Regions from separate parts of the Homo sapiens genome. Here regions 1, 2, 4, 5 and 6 are each linked to region 3. The links are contacts of gene promoters, found by promoter capture Hi-C in blood cells and fetal thymus (Javierre and others, 2016). All regions are on one chromosome and are shown on one strand. The core of a region is centred on a gene start or on the middle of the fragment in contact, and the rest is flanking DNA. Distances in the headings are between cores, read along the strand shown.

Region 1 (4,535 bases), core at 403-2,902, 360 kb before region 3:
TTTATAATGTAAATTTAAAAGAAGTAAGGCCACGTGTGGTGGCTAAAGCCTGGAATCCCAGCTACTTCAGTGGCCAAGACATGAGAATTGGTTGTGCCACTGTCCTGTAGCCAGGGTGACAGAGTGAGACCCTGTCTCAAAAAAAAAAAAAAAAAAAAAGTAAGACTGAGCATATGCGGCCTAAGTAAAACTCATTTTAAATACAAAGATATAAATAAATGAAAAGTATAAGAATTAAAAAAAACTATTCTAACTCTAATCAAAAGAAACCTGGAGTGGCTATTTTAAATACAAGGCAAAGTAGATTTCAGAGCAACAATTTCTACCAGGAATGAAGAAGGTCATTTGGAGGTCATTTCAAAATAACAAAGGCATTAATTTATCAACATGACGTAACAATTCTAAATTTTATGCATGTAATAAGAACTTCACAATAAATGAAGCAAAACCTGGGAGAACTTGAAGGAGAAATAGACAGATCCATAGGTATAATCAGAGATTTAACTAGCCCTTTCTCCATAACTTATATGCTATATAACAGAAAATCAATAATAATGTAGAAACTTTGAACAACAGTCAGCCAGCTAGAATGAATTGACACCTCTGACAACAGCAGAATACATATTCTTTTCAAGCGCACTCAAGACATTTACCATATTATACCATATTCTTGCCATGAATTGGAGGCCTTATTGATACAGAATGTTTGGGCTCCTGGCTAAACCCCACCCTTAAGCCTGGAACTGTAGCCCTAAGTGAAAACAGCTGACCTTGTTTTTAATGCCCAAATGTTGCCTTTTTGGTCTATCACTCCCCTATTCTGTATTGCTCTGCCACAAAAAGACATCAGCTGGCAGAGCAATACAAGCTGCTGAGTGGCAAGCACAGAAGCAGCAAGGGAGCTTCTGAGACTAAGGATAGACACGGCTAACGTCAGATGGTGTGGCTTCAGGGAAAGATCACCTTCTTTCCGCACCATCCCCTTTCCAATTCCCCATCCCACAAGGAGCCACCTTTATCACCTAATAAAATCCTCTGCATACACTACCCTTCAGTCTGTTTGTGTGACCTGATTCTTCCTGGATGCCAGGCAAGAACCTGGGTGCTCAGAGGGCAGGGACTTGGACACTGCTGCAGGGCCCACACAACCTGCTCCTGACAGAGAGGAGTGACCGGCTGGCTCTAGCATTCATTCCCTCTGGTTCCTGCACTTGCTTGCTCATGTGCTCCCTCTCTCAAGGAGTGGCCAACAGCTGGCTGAGTGAAACAAGCCACTCCAGTTCCTGCCCACAAAGGGGCTCAAGGGAACTATCCTGTCTCACTAGCTCCAAATATAGTCACACTGGGGGTTAAGGCTTCAACATATAAATTTGCGGAGGAGGATAAAATTCAATCCATAACATTTGCAAAATCTCTATAAACTTAAAAGCATTTTACAAAGTATGTTCTCTGACTCCAATATATTAAATTAGAAATCAATTTTTGAAAACCTCTGGAAAATTCTCAAATATTTGAAAACTGAGTAAAACAGTTCAACATAAACCATGAGCAAAAATGAAAACTACATTAAAATGAACTTCTAAAGTGTTTTGAACTACCTGAAAAAGAAAATAGTACATATCAATATTTGTGGTAAGCAGCTAAAGCAGTTCCTAGGGGAAAGTTATAGCACTATAATTCTATTATAGAAAAGAATGTCTCAAATCAATGACAACAGCATCTACCTTAAATTAGGGATGGCAGAACAAGTTAAACACAAGTTAAATAAAAGAAAGAAAATAATAAAGATCAGAATAGGAATCAATGAAATCTATAACAGAAGTAAAATAGATAAACTTAAATAAATTAATAGTTGCTTCTTTGACAAGATTAACAAAATTGATAAACCTTATTGCATGCCGATTAGAAAAGAAATTACTAATATTAGAAATGAGAGAGGATCCCTTCTCGGAGTTTTGGCTAGGATCAAGTATAGGAATGAGAGAGGTGACATCACTACAGATTCTACAGATGTTGAAAATAAAATAAAGAAATATTTTAAACAACTTTGTGCCAATAAATCAACAATTTATATAAAATGGACAAAGCCCTTGAAAGATACAAACTACCAATGCTCAGTCAAGTAGAGATAGCTCTACTTGATAGATAGCTCTATATCAAACAAATAATTAGTTGTTAAAACCTTCCCACAACAAACCTCCAGGCCCATATGACTCTGCTGGCAATTCTTCTAAACATTTAAGAAAGAAATAATATGAGTCCTACAGACATTATTCCAGAAATTTGGAGAGGAGTGAATATGTTCCAACTCAATCTATAAGGCCAATTTTATCCTGATACTAAAATCAAAGCCTTAACTGAAAAAGAACATTGCAGACCAATATCATTTATGAACATAGATGCTGTATTAGTTCCCTCAGGCTACCATAAGAAAATATCACAGACCAGCTGTCTTAAACAACAGAACTTTATTTTCTCACAGTTTTGGAGGTTGGAAGATGAGATCAAGGTGCCAGCAGGCTGCTGGTGGGTCCTCTCTCCTGGGCTTGCAGAAGGCTGTCTTCTTGCATGTCCTCACATGGCCTTTCCTCATGCACATTCACTCCTGGTATTTCTCCCTCTTCTTATAAGGACACCAGTCTTATTGGATTAAGATCCCATCCTTATGACCTCATTTAACTTTAATTACCTCATTAAATGCCCTATCTCTCGATATAGTCACATTGGGGGTTAAGGCTTCAACATATAAATTTGGGGGATAGAATTCAATCCATCGTAGAGGGAAACACTCTTAAAAACATTTTTTTTAGCAAACCGAATTCAATAATATAAAAAATGAATCACCACCGAGTAGTTGTATTGCAGGGATTCAATGATGATTTAACATTTGAAAATCAGTCAGTGCATTTCACCACATTAGGAAATTGAAAACGAAAAAAAAAACCCCACCTATCATCTCAACAAACACAGAAAAAGTATTTGACAAAACTCATCACGTATTCCTGATAAAAACTCTCAGAAAACTAGGAATAGAGAAAAAGTTTCCTGATCTGACAGAAGGCAGTTAGGAAAAAACTCTGTAGTTAATGTTCCTACTTCAGGCTGACAGACCGAATCCTTCCCATTATGATCAGAAACAGAACAAGGTGTCTGTCTTTACCTTTTCTAGTCAACAGATACTGGGTGTTCCTGTCAGGGCAATTAGGCAAGAAAGAGAAAAAAGTCACTGAGAGTGGAAAGGAAGAATTAAAGTTATTTTTACTCACAGATGGCATAATAGTCCATGAAGATGTGATGGATTCCACAAAACCTCGTAGAAGACATAACAGAGAATATACTTCAGTAAGGAGACTTTGAAATCAGAAGGTAGATTTCCCAATAAAAAGAAGTTCACAGGAAAAAAAGTAAACTTTTCGGCCATTTAAAAAATGCTAAGACTGACGATTTTTGTTTTTTGAAGATTTATTTTTATTTTTATTTTTGAGACAGAGTCTTGCTCTGTTGCCCAGTCTGGAATGCAGTGGCGCAATCTCGGCTCACTGCAACCTCTGCTTTTTGGGTTCAAACAATTCTCCTGCCTCAGCCTCCTGAGTAGCTGGGACTACAGTCATGCACCACCACACATGGCTACTTTTTGTGTGTGTGTGTGTGTGTGTGTTTTTAGTGGAGACAGAATTTCACCATGTTGACCAGGCTGGTCTTGAACTCCTGACCTCAGGTGATCCACCCACCTTGGTCTCCCAAAGTAGAACTAAACCATTAGGCAATATGATCAGTTGGCAGATGGGCGGAGATGTACTTAGGATAAAAAACATTCTGAAATTCTTGTTGTCTGGGAAGAAATTAAAATATTAACTTTACACTTTTTAAAGTCTAGTATGCACATTGAAATGTAATGGTAGCTAATAAAAATAACAGGAATAGAATGTGTAATTCTAAACCAACAGAGAGCAAGGGAGGAGGATGAATTAAACCTGCATAAATACAATGACAAGTAAAAAAGAAGAAATAAAGAAAGAAAAGGTACAATAAATTCAAGACGAAAGATAGAATGACAAAATAGGCCCAAATATATAAACATTTACAATAAAGTTAGTGATTGTTTCTAGAGAAAAACAACTTTTTCCAAATTAGATTTTAAAATCTAATTATATTACATTTACAAGATGACCTAAACCTAAAGCCTAGAATGAAAGAGAAGTATATTTACATCAAAATTATTAATAAATAAAGCAATACTCATATTAGGCACAATATATTTTTAAGCCTGAAAGCAAGGAATAAAAAGGATAATTACTCAAAAGAAAAAGAAAATATTGATTAGGAAGGCAAAATAGTAAAATAATGTGTATTATTTCTCCAAACCAAAAAACATAGCATCAAATAGGTAAAATGGAATCTGATCAAATTTGGCCAAATTCGCACAGGGATTGATAAACCTGTAATACGCTGGGAGATCCTCATGGACCTCTGTCATAATTGTTGAGCTAAATTAACTGAATAAGTTTAATCTAATAGCTATACAGAGAGAGTGC
Region 2 (4,518 bases), core at 1,384-3,883, 450 kb before region 3:
GGGAGGAGTCTGGAGCTAGAGCAGCCTCATGCGAAGGATCAGGACAGGGCAGGTGGGAGCCACAGACCTTGCCACCACTGGGTTCTGGGGCTGCCCCGTGAGTGGTTCCCTGCATATGGTGTGAGAACCGGGGAGGGCAAGAGCCCCAGAGCTGCCAGGGCCCGTCCTCATGGAAAGTGGCTGTGCCAGTGGCTGCCAAGGCCAGAACTTCTTCCAGGAGACACTGCTGAGGAAGACGAACAGAAAGAATGAATTAGTGTAAGAAAAAAAGGAAGAGCAGCAGGAATGAATGGAGGAAAGAAGGAAGGAGGAAGGGGAAGGGACTTGGACTGCTTCTTATGGGCTGGGGGAGCTGTTCGTGTTATATGTCCCACACGTTATCTTATTTACTCCTTGGGGTAATCTGACATTTTTGCCTTCATTTTAAAGATGAGGAAACAGAAGCCTCATGGGGGTAAGCAATGGCTGGGCCAGAATCAAACCCTGGCAATGGGACTTGTGTCTCTTAGCTCCACTGCCTCTAAATGGAGATATGAATGAAACGTTGGGGGATAGGATGGACAGCATGCTCACTTACTGACTGCACGTATAATAACAAGGTGATTGTGTTCTGAGTGGTCCTTCCTGGATTGATCTGTGCTGTCAGAAGTCAGGACAGGGGCTAGCCCTGGAAGATGTGGGGGCCAGACACACAGAAGCCTTCTGTGGCATGAGTCACATGTGTCTCAAGCTGGATGCTGGGGGCTGGGCCTGTGGTAGGGGAAGCTTCTATAATGTAAATCTGGAGTCCTACAGTCACAGCATCTTTGGGTAATTGAGACAAGGGCTGATGCAATCAGTAGAATATTAGAATGTGTCACTGAGTTAATGGACACAGTGTGCCTGGAATGCACATCACCCTAAACCCGGGGATAGATCCACTGCCGTGGGGGTGGAATCTGTTAGAACTCTCCAAGCTCCATGGGGCTCGAACTTCAGTGCCAAAGCGGGATGGGTTTGTGGCTTCAGCTCTCTGGGACACAGCTGCCAGCCTCTCCTTGTCCAGCTGGCTTCTTGAAGGTTGGGATCGGAGGCTCATCCATGCACAAGAGCTTCTGGACACAGATTCTTTGGCTCCAGTCTTTGGTTCAAACAAAAGGCATTTTCGTAAGCCTCTGTCTTCTTGCCCTGCTTTGAGCAAGTTCAGTTCAAATTCTGAGTTGCTTTTGGCTCTGGCCAAATTCTGCTGTTCTTGGAGGTTTGCTTTGTTTCTTTTTGATGCTCTACAAGTCAAAAATTGCAACATACACCAAGGAGAAAACATGTGGCGAAGACAATGAAAAACAGATCCGGGCCTGCCAAAGAAAGAGGTGGAAAGACAGAACCTGTCAGTTCCATACATCGTGCAGTTCTGGGTGCTCCACTCCAGAGCAAATGTGCTGGCCTGTGGATGGAATTCTTCCTGAGTGAGCCCTGCTTTTTAGATCTGGGTTCAATAAAGATAATTCTCTTCATCCAGTGTAATCTTCAAGTGTTCCATGACTTTTTTCCCTCAAGATCTTTCACCTACTTCTTATAAAAGCAACTGAATGTTGATTTAGGTTTGGGCTGGCAATAATGATGAAAAGTTGGTGACTTGGGGCTCTATGTTCAAAAACCATCTGCATCTCACCATTGCGAGGTGGACTTGTGAATTCCTTTTTTAGTCATAAAAAACTCACAGAATTCCATGAAGGGAAGGAGCCAAGGGGCCCACCTCTCACAGAGGCTGCTGTACCAGGCGGGTAGATGATGACATTCTCGAGGGTTTGCAAGTGCTGCCAGTCTGTGAGGCTGAAGGGTGTCCACAGGAGGAGGGGGCCCTGTGTCTGCAGGCTTGTAGTCTCCAGTGAAGCAACTCAGGGAGATCCTGCTCCACATCAGAACAAAGGCTAGAAACAGGAATTTCTGACTCTGAAAATCCGGATTATAATTATAGTGGAGTGATTGAGAATACCAAGAAGTGATTGATTCTCAGGAGGTGGAGGATACACTTTCACAGTTAATACAGCATGACAAAACAAAGCAAAACAAAAACTAACAACCTTGCCCTGTGGGGTAGAAACAACAGAATTATCCTTCCTAACATCCTTAATTTTAAATTATATATCCACATGTATACATATTAGCCCATTTTTTTTTCTCCAGAAGATTGTTAGTTCCCTGAGGGTGAGGCCTCTTTTTCTTTTCCCCCCACTTCTGTTTTCCAGCCATTAGTACAGTTCCTGGAAGATTGTATCTTGACAATTTATGTAGTCATTTATTTATTTGAGTACTATTTATTGAAGGCCTTCTATCCAGTGAACACTGTTCGGAAGAATATCACAGTGAACAGAAGGGACAAGAATTCCTTCCTCCCAAGGCTTACATTTGAAAGGCATGGGAAAAACAAAACAAAAAAAGAAACCAAATAACTAGAAGGGATTGTGGTGTAAAACCTAAATCATAACCAAGGGAGGGGCATGCAGGTCACATTTTAGTTGGCATGGTGGTTACTTAGTCTCTGAGGTCATTAAGTGGCCTGTGGTCTGAGGCAGGTGCAACGTGAGAAATCCAGAGAATCATGAGGGGGTAGGGCAGGCTTAGAAAAGGGAGAATCTGCTGCCAGAGAGGCCAGATGCCATGAGTCCAAAGGAATCATCCCGCCCCCAGCAGACAAGCGTGGAGCCAGCCTGCTCCTCTGGCCAAAGCATTCCACCCCCGGACCTCTCCTCCAGGTACTTCCTGTCCAGACGGGCAGTGGCCCCAGAGCCTGGGAAACCTGCCCCACAGGTGAGGGCAAGGGGTGTGTCTGAAGTGGGTGAGAGGCTGGTATGAGCCTTGGTTGCTGCTCTGGAAACAGGAAGAAGAGATGTGGAAGAAGAGATGTGGGTATGGTGGATTCTGACCCTTGGCTCCCCAAAGTTCCACAGGTATGTGCAGTTTATCGGTCTCATTGATTATTAAGTTCTGTGGGGGAACGGCTCTGTCAACATCGTCCCAGAGACATCTGTTGATGCCTTAGTGTTCCCTGCGGTCAAGGTGCCTGCAGTATGGCGGAGGAGACTCATGCAGAAAATCAGAACTGTATTATCTTAGTGCCAAAACAGAAGTGGGCATTTTGACATTGCAGTGGCAAAAGGAGGACATGGTCAGCTACAGGTGGCTATCTTAGTTTATTAATAGCAAAATATTAAAAAATATTTTAAAAATTATATTTGCCTCCCAGTGGAGGGTCTTGGGTAATTGGGCAACCCAGTGCTAAAGATAGGACTGGGACTTTCATCATAAACCTTTTATACATTTGTGTTTTTTGACATTTAAAAATCAGAATATTTTCAGCTTAAAAAAAAACATAATAAGCTTCCATAGTTCTTAGAACTGGGACTGTCCACATCAGGAATACGTGATTTGCAATGCCAAGAAAGATGTGCTGAATTTATTCGGCAAACTAAAGAGAAAATAAAATTTATTTGAGTATTTAAAAAAACCCAGGAATGAGTGCTATGCATGCCACACACTAGCATGCCAGATAAAACAGATGTGGAGTCAGAAACTGAATGATGTGCCTCTTGACCTTTGATTTGACCTCTTGTGCCTTTGATTTTGTCATGTGTATATATTACTTATTTAAGAATTATTCATGTAATTGTAAAAGTGGATGAGGAAATGATGTAAAAACAGCTACTCCTTGTGGAAGGTTGGCCTTTGTGCTAAGTGCTGTTTGCTCCACCTCATTCCTAGAGCAGGGAGCATTTGCAGAGGCTTGGGAGGGAGTGGACGTGTCCCTGATGCTAAGGGCAGAGGAGGAGCGGGGCCCTCGGGCAGCTGGAAGGGCATCCTGAAAAGACGCCTGCCTGCCGCCGTTCTCCTGGCAGCAGGGCGCGCTGGGAAGCACCAGGCAGGAAGTGAAGAATTTCCGGTTGTCAGCGGAGGGATGGGGCGTCACCAAGTCTGTGGCAAGCACACCAAGAACCAGCTAAGTCCAAGGCTCACCTGCATGGCAAATGGTGAAGGTAAAGTCCAGCTGCCAGCCCAAAGTAGAGCGCTTTTACAGCAAGCTGCTCTCAAATCATTTCCAAAATCAAAGTTGCTGTAGCTGCAGTCAGGGAACTTCAACAGGATGTGGGCCAGGGGTAAGACAGAAGCATATCTTTACCTGGTTCTCCATCTGGGAGATGAGCATCCCGAGGGAGAAGGACAAGACACCTCAGTAAGGACTGGTGCTCAATGTGTCGGGGCGTGGGGGGCGTGGGGGGCGTGGGGGCTGGGTGGGTGGGTGGTGAGGAAGCAGGAGGGGCCAGATGGAGAAATTCGAATTGTTCCTTTTGCTGCAGACAATAGGAGCACGATAAAGTTTTCAGCAGGGGAGCCATGTGATCACATTTCTGCTTTAGAAACAAAGGGAAGAGCTCAAAATCCTGGAAAGATGATATCTGAGCTGGAAGCCCTCATTGAGTTCTGACCCTCTCCTTGTGAAGCAAGCAACTTGCCAACATCATCAAACCCTTCATTTAAACT
Region 3 (4,084 bases), core at 1,419-3,918:
GTTTGAACAATAGGGTTTTCCCTATAATTTTAACAGAAAATTATAAAAGATTATAAGAGGTTTATGGAAAGCTTATCTTGCATGGTCAAAACTGATTCAGACTGGATGGATTTATTTATAAGTCTTTATTAAACTTAGCTTTAGCATTAATAATATACTGACACAAATGTAGAATATGCTTTCCTCTTTTGAACAAGATTTTAATGTAGTATTAATAAGGATAGTAAAAGGCTTTTGTTCAACTTTTGAGTAAACTGCAAAAAAAGATCTTTATTAGGTCTTTTGATTATTTAGATAACTGAGTCTTCTCTCTCAAAGAGTAAAGGTTGTTTGAAATTTTTGAATTATTGCTTTGGTTAAATGAATGACTATTATTTACAGTGAACTGTGATCCTAATTTGATCAAGTGTTTTAAACCTTTAATATTTGATATACTACCCAAAGTCAAATTTCAGTTTCTAAAATTAAATCTTTTCCAAAAGTAACCTCTAGAAATCTAAGAAAGATATATTTAGCTTATTTGGTATGTTAAAATCATATGGGAAGCATTGTCAAATCTCAAATAAATAATGGAGTTTAATTTTTTAGTCATATTTTTCTGAATATGTTATTATTTTGATATATCATGATATATGTTGTCAAGCATAATTATGATTTATCCTTGGTAAAAACGGGGAAACGGGAGAGAAAAATTGCATTTCAGAAGACAAGTACAGTATGCCTGTTATCAGATTCTAGTCTTGCCCATTGTTTTTGAGTTTTTATTATTTTCCTACAATTTGGACTAAATCCTGAATTCTTTCTTGGCTGCAAGTCTTCAAACTAATGCTTTTGAACTTTTCTCTCATTTTTCTCACTTGGAATCACTAGAATTTAAAACTGCTTTTCTTGAAGCCCTGCAAACTAAAGTTAGACAACTTGATATAAACTTCAGGAGGAGTCAGCACAGCAACTCACATGTACACAGCCTTTGTGCCTGCTGATGTATGGGCTACTCAGGAAGTTCACATGAACACGTAATTCAAACTATAATCCAGGAAAATCTGTAAGATTACCACTACAATCTGAAGATACTTCTGAGACTCTAGAAAAACTAGTTTATTATGGACTATTCCAGACATTAAGAAAAACCTTTGTTTTTCTTTGTTTCCATAGAAATGCCTCTTATTAAAGACCAGCTTGCCTGCATCAGCTGTAGAAGCCCAGCCCCTCTGTAGTGCCACCTCCTAGAATGGACACAGCTGTTTGACCAAATGCTTCTACTCTTAGGACTAAGAGACTGATTCAAGAAGATATGGGACAACATATTTATTTATTTTTCTTTTCTGCTTATCCCAATTTGTTTTTTCCCCTTCTTTGCCTTCTTTTCCTCTAACCCAAATCTCTCCATAATCACTGATTCAGCTGTTGATAATGTGAAATTCTAGGGAAGTTCCAAACAGGAGGATTGAAGGAGCGCAGGGAACTTGGCCCCAAAATATGGCTCCCTGGTATGAGTATTTTCAATTAAAGTCCCTCAAGATCAACAGAAGCTGGAAGAGTCCTCTCCCTTATCTACATGAAGACCCTGCAGACCCACCAAAGAGAACAATTACTTTTCCTTCTCCTCCCTCTTATCTCATTATCTATTGCAGAAAAGAAAACCAACACGTGACCACACCTGAACAGACGCTTTCAAAAAAATAATCCATTTCTCCAGCTTATTAAATTTTCAAAGAGAACCATTTACGAATAACTCTCTGTTTCTTGACCCATTCATTCTCCTTAATAATAATTTATTGCCCCTCAACAGAATCACCTACATTCCGCCTTCCACCCTCCTCTCTGAAAAAACGCTGTATAAGTATCTGGACCTCATGGGATATTGGGTAATCACCTTATTTTTCCCGTGTACACGTTAATAAATTTGTATGCATTTCTCTTATTAATCTGCATTGTACACTTAAAAAGTATTAAAAGAGTGAAATTTATGTTATGAATATTTTATCACAATAAAACAATATTTTAAAAAACTGACAAAAATTCTTTTTAATTTCTTTCAAGTGAGGAATTACCAACTACTTAACAGGGTGCTTAGAATGGGGGATTTTACCAGATAAGTGGCATGCTTTTTACAATTAACAATTGCTGTTATTTACTGAGTATCCACTTTCTCTGCCAGCTCCTGCGTTAAGCACTTTACATATACTAATTCAAATCCTTAAAAAAGAAAATAAAGAAGAGAAAAGGAAAGAAAAATAAGAACATGTAAGGCTATAAGGTGCCTCATCTTTGCCAAATTCTACAGACTGGCCAGGAGACTGCAGGCCACTGCAGCTTCCTAAGGCCACTCAGGACAAGGCCAGTCCGCAATTTGTTTCACTGTGAGACGGCTGCGCGGTCAGAGCCCAGACACGGTCATCAGACTCCCGGACTTGGATTCAGCTCCACATGGTGTCACCCTGGGTAAAGGATGTACATCTCTGCGTGCCTGGGTTTGTATGGATGGCAGCATGGATGCTCAGGCAACTGACCCGTCAGGACTGCAGCAAATGAACAGAAGCTGGGGGAGAGCGCGGGCTGGTGCTGTACGGAGCTCTGGCGCAGAAGGCGCTCACCAGGGGTGCCCAGAGCCGGGGTCTGTGCGCCGCGGGTTGGATCCGGGTCACAGGCTCTGGGTGGACAGAGTGAGAAGACAAAATGAGGATGTACTCCTCAGATGCTCACGAAAGGCCTCCTTCCCCTTCTTTGGGAACGACCCCCCCCCACCCCCTCCCCCCAACAGGCAGTCCCAGGCCGCGCCAGGACTCGGCCGCAGGCAACTCGGAGGAGCGGGAGCCCAGGGGCCTCAGGAGGGCCTCGGGAGTGGGGAGGTGAAGGGGGCGTCGGGAGGGCCGCGGGTGGGAGGCGGGATAGGGAGGCGGGGAGACTCGGAGCGGGGTTGGGGAGGCGAAGAATGGAGGTGGGGAGGTGGGGAGGGGGGCTTCGGGAGGGCCGCGGGTGGGAGGGGGATGGGGAAGCGAGAAGGGGGGGCGGGGAGGGGGGCCTCGGGAGGACCGCGGGTGGGAGGTGGGTGGGGAGGGGGGCCTGGGGAAGGATGGAGCCCGCTGAAGGCAGGCGATGACGCAGGCCCAGTGTACTTCTCCTGGGGGCTCCTTTCTAGGCCCACGGAAGCTCCGTGTTGGTTTCTTTGTACCCATATCACACTCACTGTATTTCTTCTTTCCTTTCCTCTCCCAGCAGCTGTAAGCGCCCTACAGTTTGCATGGGAAGGCAACAGGGACTTCCCTTTTGCACTGTCTGCGGGTACCGCTGTTCCAGCCCTGAGAGGACGAGGGGACGCTGCGCTGTGGGGAAAGTCCGGGTGGCAGGAGGTGGCGGGGCTCCTGGAGGAGGTGCTGGGATGCGCTGCTGTGGCTGCAGAGAAAGGTCCCGAGGACGCAACCCGTCCCTTCCCCCGAACTGCGAAGGAGCCCCGCGGGGAGGACGGGCAGGGTCTCCCGGAGGGAGGAACAGGGGAGCCTGGAGTCTCAGGGTTGCGGGGAGCAGAGGCGTTCTGGGTGGTGAACGTCCCCAGCCTGCCCTCCCTGCTCACTGCGAGGTCGCGCACCGGCTCTGCTCCAGGCCTTCCCTCAGCCCTGGCCTCCAGGCAGTTTCCATTTTTGCCAGGTGGATTCTGTACGGCTTCATTTATTCAGAATCTGGATCAACAAATGAACACTCAGAGAGGAAAAGGGTGTTTGGAGGGGTGGAGAGGTTTCCAAGCAGGTGCCCACCTGAGGGCCCCCTGAAAGGGGACTTAAAGCCGAGTTTCCAGCTGGGCCACCCTTTTTTTTTCTTTCTTTCTTTCAGAAATATAAACAAAGAGCTTGAATTATTTTGAAATAACTGTTGGTAGCTGGACTGTGTTCTCTTGACCGCAACATTGCTCTGGGACTGAATCGCGTGGGTCTCTGCTCTTCCTAAGTGTTACATAAGAATAGCGAACCCATGAGGTCAGCTTCTAAACCAGTTTCTTCCCATAACCTCCTGGACCAAGTCCCAAGCAAGGCCCAGAGGAGCTCAAGGACCCACTCTCCCCGGGACACTCCTCGCTCTCTAGTTG
Region 4 (4,285 bases), core at 1,170-3,669, 470 kb before region 3:
TTATTAAGTCCTTGTGTGATTTTTTGGCATCTTTTCATTTTTGGAGGATATTTTTAATAGTTTTGTTTCCTTCTGACTACCCTTACATGACTTCATAGTGCTATGTAGGGGAAATTATGGGAGTAGAGAGGCCTTAATATAGAATATTAAATGCATGGACTCAGAGTGTTTTAACAATGTTGTCACTGGAGTACTCAGAATGCTGTTTCTAGTGAGTTTTTGCCACACTTACAAGTTGTGACATTTTCCAAGAAAAATACTACATTTTAGAAAGTCATACGGAAGGAGTCATGATTTGGATTATATTTTACATTATATTATATGTGTCTTTTGTTTTTGTAACTTTATTTACTAACTCTGACTTTTATAATAAAGAAATTTTAGCGCACAATGAGAATATCTGGCATATTTGGAAGGCTGCATTTGGTAAGCCATTTTGGACTACTTAGAGCAGGGGTCTGCAACCTATGGGCTGATACTGGTCTGTGGCCTGTTAGGAACTGGGATGCTACAGCACGAGGTGAGTGGTGAGTGAGCATTGCTGCATGAGCTCTGCTTCCTGTCAGATCAGTAGTGGCATTAGATTCTCATAGGAGCATGAACCCTACTGTGAACTGCACATATGAGGGTTCTAGGCTGCACGTTCTTTATAAGAATCTAACTAATGCCTGATGATCTGAGGTGGAACTGTTTCATCCTGACCCATACACCCTGCCTGTGGAAAAATTGTCTTCCATGAAACTGGTCCCTGGTGCCAAAAAGGTTGGGGACTGCTGGCTTAGTGTAATTGTGACATAAACAAAGAACATTATTCCTGTGATTTTATTTAAAATGTCTGGCTCTCATATCACTGTGAATATGGTCTATTCAGACTATGAAAGAGTTAAGGTTAACATGAGATTGAAAATTTACTTCATTATAAAAGTTGGCTATGTTTACCTGCTTTCTATGAAAAAACTCAAATTAACCAAATATATGATTCCAAATATCTAGGCAATGCCCTTAGGTATGCAAAAGTGGATTTTTATAATTGCCTTACTCTTGGTTGGAACTGTGTAGACACATCTTTGCCTTGTCTACAATTCCACCCAGTGACAATGTTATTTATTTTATTTTATTTTTGAGACAGAGTCTCACTCTGTTATCCAGGCTGGAGTGCAGTGGCACGACCTTGGCTCACTGCAACCTCTGCCTCCCAGGTTCAAGCAATTCTCGTGCCTCAGCCTCCAAGTAGCTGGGATTACAGGTGAGCGCCACTGTGCCCGGCTACTCTTTGTATTTTTAGTAGTGGCAGGTTTTCACTATGTTGCCCAGGCTGGTCTCAAACTCCTGGACTCAAGTGATCTGCCCGCCTCAGCCTCCCAAAGTGCTGGGATTACAGTTGTGAGCCATAGTGCCTGGTCCCACTCTCAATTTTAAAGGGCTGTAAGTACTTTCGGGCAAGCACTATGCTGAAAGTTTTGTTCCAAATGCTATTGTTAATCTACTTTTCACCAATCTGATCTGCTCCATTAGCTTCAAAAGACACTTTTTTGTTTGTTTGGGTTTGCCTTTGATGGCCTTCTGCCTGCCACAAGCAATCCTCTAGAATATGGGCCTGTGCTTGGCTTTTCTACCCAAACATGAACAACCTTAAATTACTGGGCGACATTCATCGCCTCCTGCCAACTAGAGAGAGAGGCCCGTCCTGGTGAGAGTGGGACCTTGAGCTCCTCTCGGCCTTGCTTGGGCCTTGGTCCAGGAGGTTATGGGAAGAAACTGGTTTAGAAGCTGACCTCATGGGTTCGCTATTCTTATGTAACACTTAGGAAGAGCAGAGACCCACGCGGTTCAGTCCCAGAGCAATGTTGTGGTCAAGAGAACACAGTCCAGCTACCAATAGTTATTTCAAAATAATTCAAGCTCTTTGTTTATATTTTTTTAAAAAAGAAAAAAGACAAAAAAAGGAAGGGGTGGCCGAGCTGGAAACCTGGCTTTAAGTCCCCTTTGTTTCCCTTCAGGGGGCCCCTCAGGTGGGCGCCTGCTTGGAAACCTCTCCACCCTTCCAAACACCCCTTTCCTACCTGAATGTTCATTTGCTGATCCAGATTCTGAATAAATGAAGTCGCACAGAATCTACCTGGCAGAAAGGAAACTGCCTGGAGGCCAGAGCTGAGGGGAGGCCCAGAGCAGAGCGGGCGCGTGACTCCGCAGTGAGCAGGGAGGGCAGGCTGGGGACGTTCACCACCCAGAGCGCCTCTGCTCCCGGCAGCCCTGAGACTCCAGGCTCCCCTGTTCCTCCCTCCCAGAGACCCTGCCGGTCCTCCCCGCCGGGCTCCCTCGCAGCTCGCAGCTCGCAGCTCGGGGAAAGGGCGGGCTGCGCCCTCAGGACCTTTCTCAGCAGCCACAGCAGCGCATCCCAGCACCTCCTCCAGGAGCCCCGCCATCTCCTGCCACCCGGACTTTCCCCACAGCGCAGCATCCCCTAGTCCCTTCAGGGCTGGAACAGTGGTACCCGCAGACGGTGCAATAGGGAAGTCCCTTTTGCCTTTCCATGGAAGCTGTAGGGCGCTTAGAGCTGCTGGGGGAGGAAAAGAAAGAAGAAGAAGAAATACAGTAAGTGTGATATGGGTACAAAGAAACGAACATGCAGCTTCCGTGTGCCTAGACAGGAGCCCTGGGACATGTGCACTGGGCCTGCGTCATCGCCTGCCTTCAGCGGGCTCCAGACCTTCCAGAGGCCCCCCTCACCACCCGCGGCCCTCCTGAGGCTCCCCTCACCCCCACCCACCTCCGAGGCCCTCCCGAGGCTCCCGGGCTCGCGCTCCTCTGAGTTGCCTGCGGCTGACTCCAGGTGTGGCCTGGGTCTAGTGTCTGGGGGGGTCGTTCCCAACGAAGGGGAAGAAGGCTTTTCGTGAGCATGTAAGGAGTACATCCTCATTTTGTCTTCTCAATCTGTTCACCCAGCGCCTGTGACCCGGACCCAGCGCGCGACTCACAGACCCCGGCTCTGGGCACCCCTGGTGAGTGCCTTCTGCCCCAGAGCTCCACACAGCACCAGCCTGCACGCTCCCCCAGCTTCAGTTCATTTGCTGCTGTCCTGACAGGTCAGTCGCTTGAGCATCCATGCTGCCAGGTGACAAACCCAGTCACGCAGAGGTGTACATCCTTTAGCCAGGGTGACACGATGTGGAGCTGAATCCAAGTCCGGGAGTCTGGTGACCGTATCTGGGCTCTGACTGCGCAGCTGTCTCACAGTGAAACAAATTGGGGACTGGCCTTGTCCTGAGTGGCCTTAGGACGGTGCAGTGGCCTGCAGCCTCCTGTCCAGTCCCCACCATTGACAAGTGCATCGATGTCCCACAGCTGTGCCACTAGAGGCTGTTTGACTGTGGTAGTTTCACATGTATCTGCTTAGTCCTCTTTTGCCAGACTTTACGCTTTGTGTGCCAGTTCCAATTTAGGTAAAAATTCTGGATATTCTCGGTTATCCCACGTGGAGGAAGGACTGAGCAAACTCACATCCATCACCCTGACCAGGGCCTGAGAGCAGCAGCCTCTCCGCGGGCAACTCTGTTACTAGGACTCTGGGCGTGAGGGGAAGCGGAGGGGGCAGCTCTGTTACTAAGAGTTAGGGAACCCAGCGGAGCTCCACTGTAAGTGAATGTCTAGTTCGACTATATTTTCTTGTAGAATCATTAACTCCAAAAGAATTGAATTGAATGATGTACAATTCACAAACACACGACTTTACCATCTCACCAGAAACACTCTTACCACAAGGACACTAAGTTGATTCTGTAAAATGTGGGAAATACAATGCACCTCGAAGCCTTGCAGGCTCCTGTTTTTCTTTCCTTTTCTCTTTTTTTAGGATTAGAATGAGTACATGTAAAGTGCTTAGTGTAGGAGCTGGCAGAGAGGGTAGACACTCAATAAATAGCAGCAATCGTAAGTGTACAAAGCGGGTCATGTGCCTGGCATTGCCCCTCACCCCTGCCTCCCATTCTAAGCAGCCTGTTGAGCACTTGGTAATTCCTCACTTGAAAGAGATTATAAAGAGGTTTTTTTTTTGGTTTATATTTTAAAAGATTTTTTTATTGTGGTAAGATGTACATAATGTAAAGTTTGTACATTCACGTTGTTGTACAACATCATCACCATCTATCTCCAGAACTTTTCCATCATCTCAGACAGAAACTCTGTCCCCATTAAACACAGACTCCCCATTCTCTCCCATCCCTAGACCCTGGTAACTACCAATTCTACTTTCTGTCTCTCTGAGTTTGAGTACTCTAGGTATAGG
Region 5 (4,260 bases), core at 1,657-4,156, 390 kb before region 3:
ACATGGGCAAAGTGCAGGTCCACTCAAAACAGTAGCCAGCAGGTAGCCGTGTCTGCTGTGTGGTAAGCGTCTTACCTACATGATCTGTTTTGATCATCCTGATAACCTTATGAAGTAGGATTGATTACCTGTTAATGATGAAAAAACATTGAGGTTCAAAGATGGTAAGCAATTTGCCCAAGAATTACAGAATGATTAAATCTTGGAGCCAGATTCAAGATGAAATTCCTCAGACTCAAAAGCACTTACTCTCTTCACTTGAGCTCATTGCATCCCAAGAAGGAAAAGACATGAAACAAAATGGATGGCTTAAGAAGCCGGCATGGCCATTACCTGTGTGACTTGGCAGGACATCATGTTGGGACTTCAGAAGGAGGCCAGTAGGAAGAGGAAGCTGGAAATAGATGTGGCAGAAGCAGCAGGATCCAGGCCAGGGTCGCTTTCGAAGGTGAAATCTATTCTGCTAGTCTGGGCAATGGTAGCAGTTTCCAGTACCTGCAGGTGGACTACGAGGCAGTGACATTCTCGTTCCACCTGATCTGTTTAGCACCTTGCTGGATGTGTAGGGCAGAGTCTCACCTCCTGAGAAGGGGTCTGGGCAGGACTGCACAGGGCATCATGCCTTCCACCTGGACCTCTGGGCAGGGCTACAGGCCCTGCGGGTGGACTGGATGCAATTCGGAACATGGAGACAGACATGTTGCATTCCGACTAGGGAGACCTGGCAGAGCTTAGGGGACCCTGACAGTGCAGAGACTGTGAGGGAATCTAGGCTCGTCTTGGGCTGCATGGCCCCCCTGAGCAGCAGCAGGGACTGCTCTCTGGATGGCAGGGCTAAGCCTGCAGATTCTGGGGCTGCTGAGTGCCTACAGCCTAGGGTTGCGGAGAAAGTAGCACCTGACACCGGTTCAGAGGAGACAACCTGCCACTCTCTGAGTTACAGGCTGCATTTCACTTCACTTGAGGGTCCGATTCCGGATGGAATATAGGGCCATTAGAGGCGAGGACTGAGGGTCGGTAAGGCTGGAAGATTTGTTGGAAGGTCAGTGATGTGGCTGTTGACGTGCATGAAAATGAAGATGATGAACCAGGTACCTGACATCCGGCAGTTTATAGACAGCAGATCCCTAAAAGGGTGGGGCAGGAGGCAAGGTAGCTGTCCCTCGATACCTACAAGCTGTGAACAGAGTCCCCAGGACCCGTCCCTCTCTTGGGAACCACAAGCTGATGACTCTTTGGCTCCCACTGGTTTTGCTTGGCTTGCACAGGGTTAAAAGCTGAATTTAAATGTCCTGGGTGGGGCCTGTGTTTTCCAGGCCCACCAGTCCCATCCGATACCCAGACACCTTTACTCAGGTGCGCCACCTGCCTGGGTTGTGGGTGTCTGGGAACTGTCGCGGGAGTGCCGCCAGCCCGGTTTTGTTGTCCCATGCAGAGGCGGTGGTCCAGCCTCAGACTCTTAGCTGCAGGACTGACAGTGAAGTGAGAGCATGCCTTGCCCTTCCCTGCCTCCCCTCTGCAAGCTGTTTCCCCAGGACAGGACCCAGAAATGCCCCCCCAGCAGCCCCACCACCATCCTGCTCAATCTGGAAAGGGAGAGCAGAGAGGAAAAGAGGAGAGAGTTTGTGGAGAAACAGGGTGAGACAACGATTGGAAGTGGGCAGGGAAGACCAAGGGAAAGATATGGCCTTCTCCTGGGAGTCCAGAAGTGATTGTTATGTCTGGGAGCTCCCAGACATGTATTTTCCAGGTCCTGGGATTTTAGTTACAAAGTTCTGCATGAGCTGTGAGTGAGGTGGGCTGGTAGCACAGGGCTAGGAGTGATGGTTCACACACGATTCTTCAAGGGGCTGGTAGAGGGGCACCTCCGAGAGGGGGAGCTTCAGGGCCAGGGAAATACGAAGACCCGAGCAGAGCTGAATGAGTTAGAACAGGGGGAGGTTGTTCTTCTTCACTGCCCAGCCTGCCCCCATCCCAGCTGCCGGCACACGAGCTACTGAGACCCAGGCGTGTGGCCAATCCACAGGAGGTGGGCTGTGAGTGTGAAGTGCATGGCAGACACACACGAGCTCAAAGACCTGGCCTGAAGAGAAGAAAGCAACCGATCCCATTAATAAGTTATGTGAAGGTTACATGCTGAACTGATAATATTTTGGATGTATTAAGTTAAATAAATTATATTACATGATTTTACTAGTTTCTCTTTACTGTTTTTTTTTTTTTTTTTTTTTTTTTTAGTGTGGCTCCTAGAACATTTGAAACTATGTATGTGCTTTGTATCACACTCTATTGGACAATACTAATCTAGGCTCTTCTTAAAGCTCCAGGAGCAAAATATACAAACACAGAAGAAAACACACACGTGCACGTGGACACACACACACACACACACACACACACACACACACTCTAGAGGGTTTCAGGCAGCTCCAGCAGCTGGAAGACAAGACTGCTCGAGATAAGTCTGTTGAAACTGTGATAAATTAAAAAATAACGCAGACCACCCCCGGCCCTTGGGGAGCTCCTGCTAGTGCTCAGTCCCCATTGTGCCAGCGCCTGACTCCTCTTTTCCTGCCCTCGCCTCCAGCCCAGTTCAGGCTGCTTCCCACTTTCTGAACGCCACCACAGACTCAGGGTGTCAGATGTGCTGGGAGAAAACAAGCGCTTACATTTCAGAAATAAGAAATCTTTTTCTCAGGCTTTGGGGTTAATGGTATGAGAGTTTCTGCATTCCAGCTGCTGTGCTGGGTCTCTGGCAGGCCAGCTGTTCTCTGCTCCAATGGAAAACATAACTAAGTAGTCATTTCAGTGTGTAAAAAGTTCAGCAGAATTGTTGGAGCTATCACCATAAATCAGAAATGACTTTCTTTAGGGACTCGATTGCCACTTGATTTAGCATTTCCTGGCACCTTGCCTATCATAGAATGAAGCCATGATTGCTTCCTATACAGAATGTTATCTGTAAAACATCTCACCAGAAGCCCACAGAACGCTGACCAGCCTGCAAGTTTTGATAATCTATGGCTGGCCTTCGTATTGAGAATAAATTTGACAATGGGACCCATTGTTAAATTAGATAATATATTTCATGGAACAGCTTCCAAATGAAAATGGGGTTCATACAGTTTTTTACATATCATTTGTTCCAGAAAAAGGAAAAATGGACTCTGTTCAAGGGAGAAAATTCAGTGAAATATTCATACTGTGAAATCTGAGAAATTATCCTAAGCAAACTACATGCTGACATGCTTTGTTACTGTATGAATGGGGAAATGTGAATCGGCTGAGGGAAGGGTAGGGTGACAGCCGCATGATGGAAATGTCGAGAGTTCCCTTAGCTTAGTTCCTTACATGTAAAGAAGGAACAATGTAGTTGGGAAGGATCACGGGGAAGGTCTAGAAGACTCTCTCCAATGCCCTGTAGCTTTTCCTGGCATGTGCGCTGTCCAGAAGAGAGGCCCAGAGGGGAAGAGGGAGGCTGTAAGATTTGTAGGTAGAGATTCTGCCTTTCACAAAGCCAGGGAGGCACTAACCCCAGCTGACACTTGTCATGGGCTGTGAGCCATGAACAGGCCAAGAACAGGGGTGAACCTCGCTGGCGCTCAGCAGAGAACAAGGGCACTTCCAGGAAACTCCCAGTGGCTTCCAAACTGAGAAAAGAACCAAGGGCAGAGACGCTCCACTCAGGCCATCTCAGAACGGCTTGCTTCCTGGCTCCCGGGGCTGCTGAATCAGCATAGAGAACTGAGAACTCGGTCTTCTTCCCTGCCCCTTCCCTTGGGTCGGAATAACTCAGACCGGGATCCCCACTAATGGTTCTGGACAAACATTGCATTCCCTCTGTAATGTCGAGCACACAGATGAAAATCACCAGGAGAATGAGAAGATAGCACAGTTCAAAAGGAGGAAGCACTCTGAGGAATCAGGGGAAATATTTTCCTATAAAATATAGTTTCTGAAAGAGATGGGAAAATTTTGAGAACACTTCTGATCTGTGTTTCCAATAAACTTCAAATGAGCATTTCTTCTATGAAATTCGAGTAGAGAACCATAAAGAAAAAAAACAAACAGGGTAGGGAAGGCTGTGAGATGATTTAAAAAATGTTCATTTCAGAAATGGAAACGGGGAAGGGGAGAGCAAAATGGACCTTTCAGTAAAAAAGGTTTTATAAGAGAGAAGTCAAATTTGACATCACAGAAGTCAGAGGAAGAGGATAAGAGAAGGTTAATTAGAGAAAATATAGGAAAAGCATGGGCTGA
Region 6 (3,975 bases), core at 666-3,165, 510 kb before region 3:
TGCACTGAGAATCTGCTTCTTCCATATCTGGCTAGAAGTCTCATTAGATGTATGATCTACAGTCTGGCCAGGGTGCATTCCATCTACTCGGCTTCTGGGTCCCATTGCAATCCAACTTTAACCTTGATTCTCTGCCCCAGGAGAGGGATGGTTATCTGAGAAGACCCATCATTAGGCCCAGCCTTGGGCTCCTGGGCCCACCTGCAGCCAGTGGGCCATCCTCTGGGTGGTTTGCAGCCACAGTTGGGAGGGAGGTTGAGTTCAAGGGTTTGCTAGTTTGTAAGTGAATTTTATTGCTGTAACATCATTCTCACTCACTTGCCCTCTGACGTGCTTTCTTGGGCAGGAGGGAAGGTCAGGGTGACTCAGTGGTGCAGAAATTATCTTGATTCCTGGGCACCCCCTGGACCCCACCTGGGCCTCTGGTCCAAGGAAAGCAACGACACTCACGTTAGGGCCCTGAATACTCAAGTCCAGCCTCTGCCTTTTTGTAAATAGTAAATCTACCCGAGGTTATGTACATCCCAAAGGGGAAATGTGCCTTTTCCACCCTGTTACACAGCGTGGAGGTGCATTTACAACTTGAATGTGAGAAATTCACCCCCAGCTGGACACCAAGGCCAAAGGGCCTTCTTACTGTCAGGCTTCTCTGCTGCAGGCCTGATGTGCATGGCAGACTCACACCTCTGATGATCTCAGCCAGACGAGACGAGGGCCATTAAGGTGGGAATTCAATTTCTGGACTTCAGTTATACCATGAAATGTTATGTGGCTATTTAAAAAGCATGCTTTTGGAGTTATTTTAAGACATGGGAAGATGTTCTTAGTACATTACAAAGTTGAAGAAAAGGACAGGGCCCTAAGCTGCTTCCTCAGTAAGACCCCCATTTTGTTATCTGTATATATAGCCATATCAAAATGCTGATGATAGATATTTTTGGGTGACTTCATTATAGGTACTTTCTAATATTTTTCAAATATCTACAGTGTATGTGAATTATTTTGTAATGAGAAAAGACACATTGTTGAATTAGTATAAGTTTTGTTAAAAAAAACTGTATTAAAATTATGAGTTTCATAATTTATAATGAACCCCCACCCACAGACCCATCACCCATTCTCAAAAATTACCCCAACTATGGGCTAATCTTATTTCATCTATGCCACCATCTACTTCTCTCCTGCTCATATTACTATTTTTAAATTAACAGACAATTTTTGAGAGCAGTTTTTGGCTTAAAAAAGTGGAGCAGACACAATGGAGAGTTCCCACATGCTCTCCCCTGACCCCAGTTTCCCTATTACAAACATATTGCATTAATGTGGAATGTTTGTACAATGGATGAACCAATACTGATGAATTCTTATTAATTAAAGTCCCTAGGTTACTGTAGGGTTCACTCTTTGTTTTGTATAGTTCCGTGAACACAGGTTTTTAGCTTTTTTTATTCCACAACTTATCAAGTGGATTATTCCCAAGACTACAAATGTCTGAACCAACTTAACTATTTGAAGTATCTAAATTGCATTCCAACTACAATCCAGGAACAAGTGAGGTGATGAAGAAGCCCTTTAGAAACATCTGAAAAGCACAAAGTTGAGAACACAGCAGCCACATTGAAATCTCCATCCCTAGTATATGAGTATAAAGCAACAGCAGTGTGGGTTGCTGGTGCTGATGTGTGGGGGCTGGGTTGTAGGGCTGCGCCTGCTGCCTGGGGAAGGTGAGCCTCACTCCTCCGGGAACAGTAACTTTAACTGGAGCACAGTTGTTGAGGCAGTGGGAGTGGGAAGGAGCGTGCAGAATGTTCTCCAAGACTGATTGGAGCCAGAACCTACAAAGGGGATTAAAAAAAATTAAAAAGTAATCCTGGAAGCCTAATGAAACAGAGACTTTCTCAGCAGTGGAATGGGGGAGCAATGCCCAGCCATGATGTCACCATGGCCGGCCAGGCAGCTCTTTCCAGACACCTGCCAGACGCTAATTAGTCCAGGCCTCCAGAGCAGGGATCCGGGTGGGAGCAGAGGGAGCAGAGGTCATTTTCCCCAGGACATTTGCAACCTGTCAGAGTTTAATGCCCTCTCCCCACAACCAGCCTACAGTAGAGTTTTGGTTTCTATATGCAGAAGGGGACAAAAATTGTCATAGCCAGCTGACTCAGCCCCTAAATTAATCATGCCAGTTGTGGTAGAGACCACATTGACTGTTTGCTCTTCAACAATCTCACTGATAAGCACTTCCTGCATGGGGCCAGGCTTCTGGGAGGCACTGGTGGCAAGACAGGGCAGGCTCTGCAGGGGCACTGACCTCCCACTGCAGGACACCAAGCCCCTGAAGACAGTGGGGGCTGCTCTTTATTTGCTTATTTCCAGGGGCCCCACCAGCCTTCACTTTGCCCTGTGTAGCCAAAGGGCCATGTGCATGCACAGACACATGTCATCTGGGTTTCCTGAGAGTGGAGGAGACCAAAACTGAATTCTGAGTTTCCAAGTTTCCAAATATTCAGCCCGTCATGATGGTGTGGGCAAGCCCTCCTGTGTGGATGGAGTCACAGAGAGCCGGACGCTGCTTCCTTCCACCTTCTTTTGGGGCCACAGCTAGACGTCAGTCACTTCTCAGCAGTGGGCCTCACCCCTTCCCAGCCAGGAGCACCAAACTCAACCCAGGACCATTCAGATTCTTAGGCTACTTTAGAGAATCTGTACAAACCTATATAGAAAAGCAATTAGGAAACTTTAAAAAGAAAACTAGGAGAAGGGACTAGCTCTACATGATTCCAAAATATATTTTAGGTTTCCATGGAAAATGGCACCTGGTAAGAATTCCAGATACAACCTCCTCTCCCTTTCCATGAAAAGACCTAGGAAGAAACAGAAACGCTTGGATACTAACAGATTCTTACTGCATGTGTATTGCATACCAGGTATCATGCTGGGTACTTCCAGCAGCTCATCAAGGTTGGCGGAGTAACTGACCCCACTTACAGAGGACACCCACCCGCCCAGGCATGCACAACCCCACAGACTCAGCCAGCAAGGGGCACGATGGGTGTCATGTCTAGCCCTTCCTGGACCCCAGGGCTGTGCTCCTACTGAGGCCACTCACCTGGTCTTCAGAATCCTGGGGGAATTTCCACAGCATGGGAACCTAAGGGGCTGAACCAAGAATCACGTGCAGAAGCTGGCAGTGTCTGAGCCTGGGACAGATAGGGAGGGACAACGGCTTGGGGCCTGTGGTCATCTCTCCCCTCACAGGCCCATGTTGTTGGCTCTCAGGCCACTGAGCAGTCTTAGGTCTGAGCTGTGGTTACTTTCTGGAGGTTTCATAGAAAGGCTTTGATAGCTGACCTCAATCATTGTCTCCTAGCCCAAGATGGAGCAAATCCATCAGCCTAGTTCAAAGGCCAGTAACTTCCTCTGTCATGGCTCAAAACCCAGGCCACGACCAAGCCCTGCCATGCCTGGCAAGGGAACGACTCTTGGCGTTGACCAGAGAACTGCTCCCTGTACTGTTTCCCTGACCTCTTTCCTCCACCTGATTTCCCCATAAACCTTCTCTTTCTAAATCTGTTCAGGGGAGCCAGAGAGTAGCGGAGGAGAGGTAGCAGCGCTGTCTCCCAATTCTTCCCTCGCAGTCAGCCCCTGCAATGTCTTCTCTACATAGTAGCTATGGTAAGACTTTTAAAACATACATTCAGCTCTGCACCTCCTCTGCTGGTGCTCTCAAATAGCCCCATGGCTTCTCGTGTTGGAAAAGCCTCTCCTCCCTACCCATTCCACTCCTGACTCTGGAGGCCTTGCTCTTCCTGCAAATACCAGGTGAGCTCTGGCTTCAGGGCCTTTGTGTATGCTGGGCCTCCTCCTAGGATGCACTTTGGCCAAGTGTGCTCATGCTCTTCTATGTCCACTGTTGGCTTGGACAAGGATGAGTTCTCTTTGTCTTTTAACAAATGAGGACCTCGGTTTCTGAAATAC

What was found. Contacts are between HindIII fragments. The CHiCAGO score rates a contact against its expected background, and 5 or more counts as called.
Region 1: a fragment that was not itself captured here is called in contact with the fragment with the promoter of LINC02881 in region 3 in 1 of 17 cell types (erythroblasts); the score reaches 5.1 in erythroblasts.
Region 2: a contact is called between the fragment with the promoter of LINC00619 here and the fragment with the promoter of LINC02881 in region 3, in 5 of 17 cell types (M1 macrophages, megakaryocytes, M2 macrophages and 2 more). The highest score is 6.0, in M1 macrophages.
Region 4: a fragment that was not itself captured here is called in contact with the fragment with the promoter of LINC02881 in region 3 in 2 of 17 cell types (M0 macrophages and monocytes); the score reaches 5.3 in M0 macrophages.
Region 5: a contact is called between a fragment that was not itself captured here and the fragment with the promoter of LINC02881 in region 3, in 1 of 17 cell types (megakaryocytes). The highest score is 5.4, in megakaryocytes.
Region 6: a fragment that was not itself captured here is called in contact with the fragment with the promoter of LINC02881 in region 3 in 1 of 17 cell types (M1 macrophages); the score reaches 5.1 in M1 macrophages.

The regions. Positions count from the first base shown.
Region 1 is chr10:43,932,966-43,937,500 of GRCh38, forward strand. The region is part of intron 2 of LINC00841 (long intergenic non-protein coding RNA 841); the gene reads left to right. Among named protein-coding and RNA genes, the nearest start is that of LINC02659, 23 kb to the left of the region's middle. The HindIII fragment of the contact is 6,851 bases long and covers 1-4,535 here.
Region 2 is chr10:43,842,673-43,847,190 of GRCh38, forward strand. It overlaps LINC00619 (long intergenic non-protein coding RNA 619), which reads left to right and starts at 2,634. Exons shown (of 3, transcript NR_033923.1): 1 at 2,634-2,735; 2 at 2,861-2,930. The HindIII fragment of the contact is 2,595 bases long and covers 764-3,358 here.
Region 3 is chr10:44,290,082-44,294,165 of GRCh38, forward strand. It overlaps LINC02881 (long intergenic non-protein coding RNA 2881), which reads left to right and starts at 2,669. Exons shown (of 3, transcript NR_164139.1): 1 at 2,669-2,852; 2 at 3,220-3,408; 3 at 3,832-4,084. LOC124902544 (a long non-coding RNA gene) reads right to left here. Exons shown (of 3, transcript XR_007062369.1): 3 at 3,833-4,084. The HindIII fragment of the contact is 4,267 bases long and covers 70-4,084 here.
Region 4 is chr10:43,823,381-43,827,665 of GRCh38, forward strand. No RefSeq gene overlaps it. Among named protein-coding and RNA genes, the nearest start is that of LINC00619, 20 kb to the right of the region's middle. The HindIII fragment of the contact is 5,025 bases long and covers 1-4,285 here.
Region 5 is chr10:43,903,095-43,907,354 of GRCh38, forward strand. It overlaps LINC02659 (long intergenic non-protein coding RNA 2659), which reads right to left. Exons shown (of 3, transcript NR_184145.1): 2 at 334-1,127. Among named protein-coding and RNA genes, the nearest start is that of LINC00841, 4.1 kb to the right of the region's middle. The HindIII fragment of the contact is 7,287 bases long and covers 1-4,260 here.
Region 6 is chr10:43,779,964-43,783,938 of GRCh38, forward strand. The region is part of intron 1 of LOC105378275 (a long non-coding RNA gene); the gene reads left to right. Among named protein-coding and RNA genes, the nearest start is that of LINC02658, 3.0 kb to the left of the region's middle. The HindIII fragment of the contact is 5,528 bases long and covers 1-3,975 here.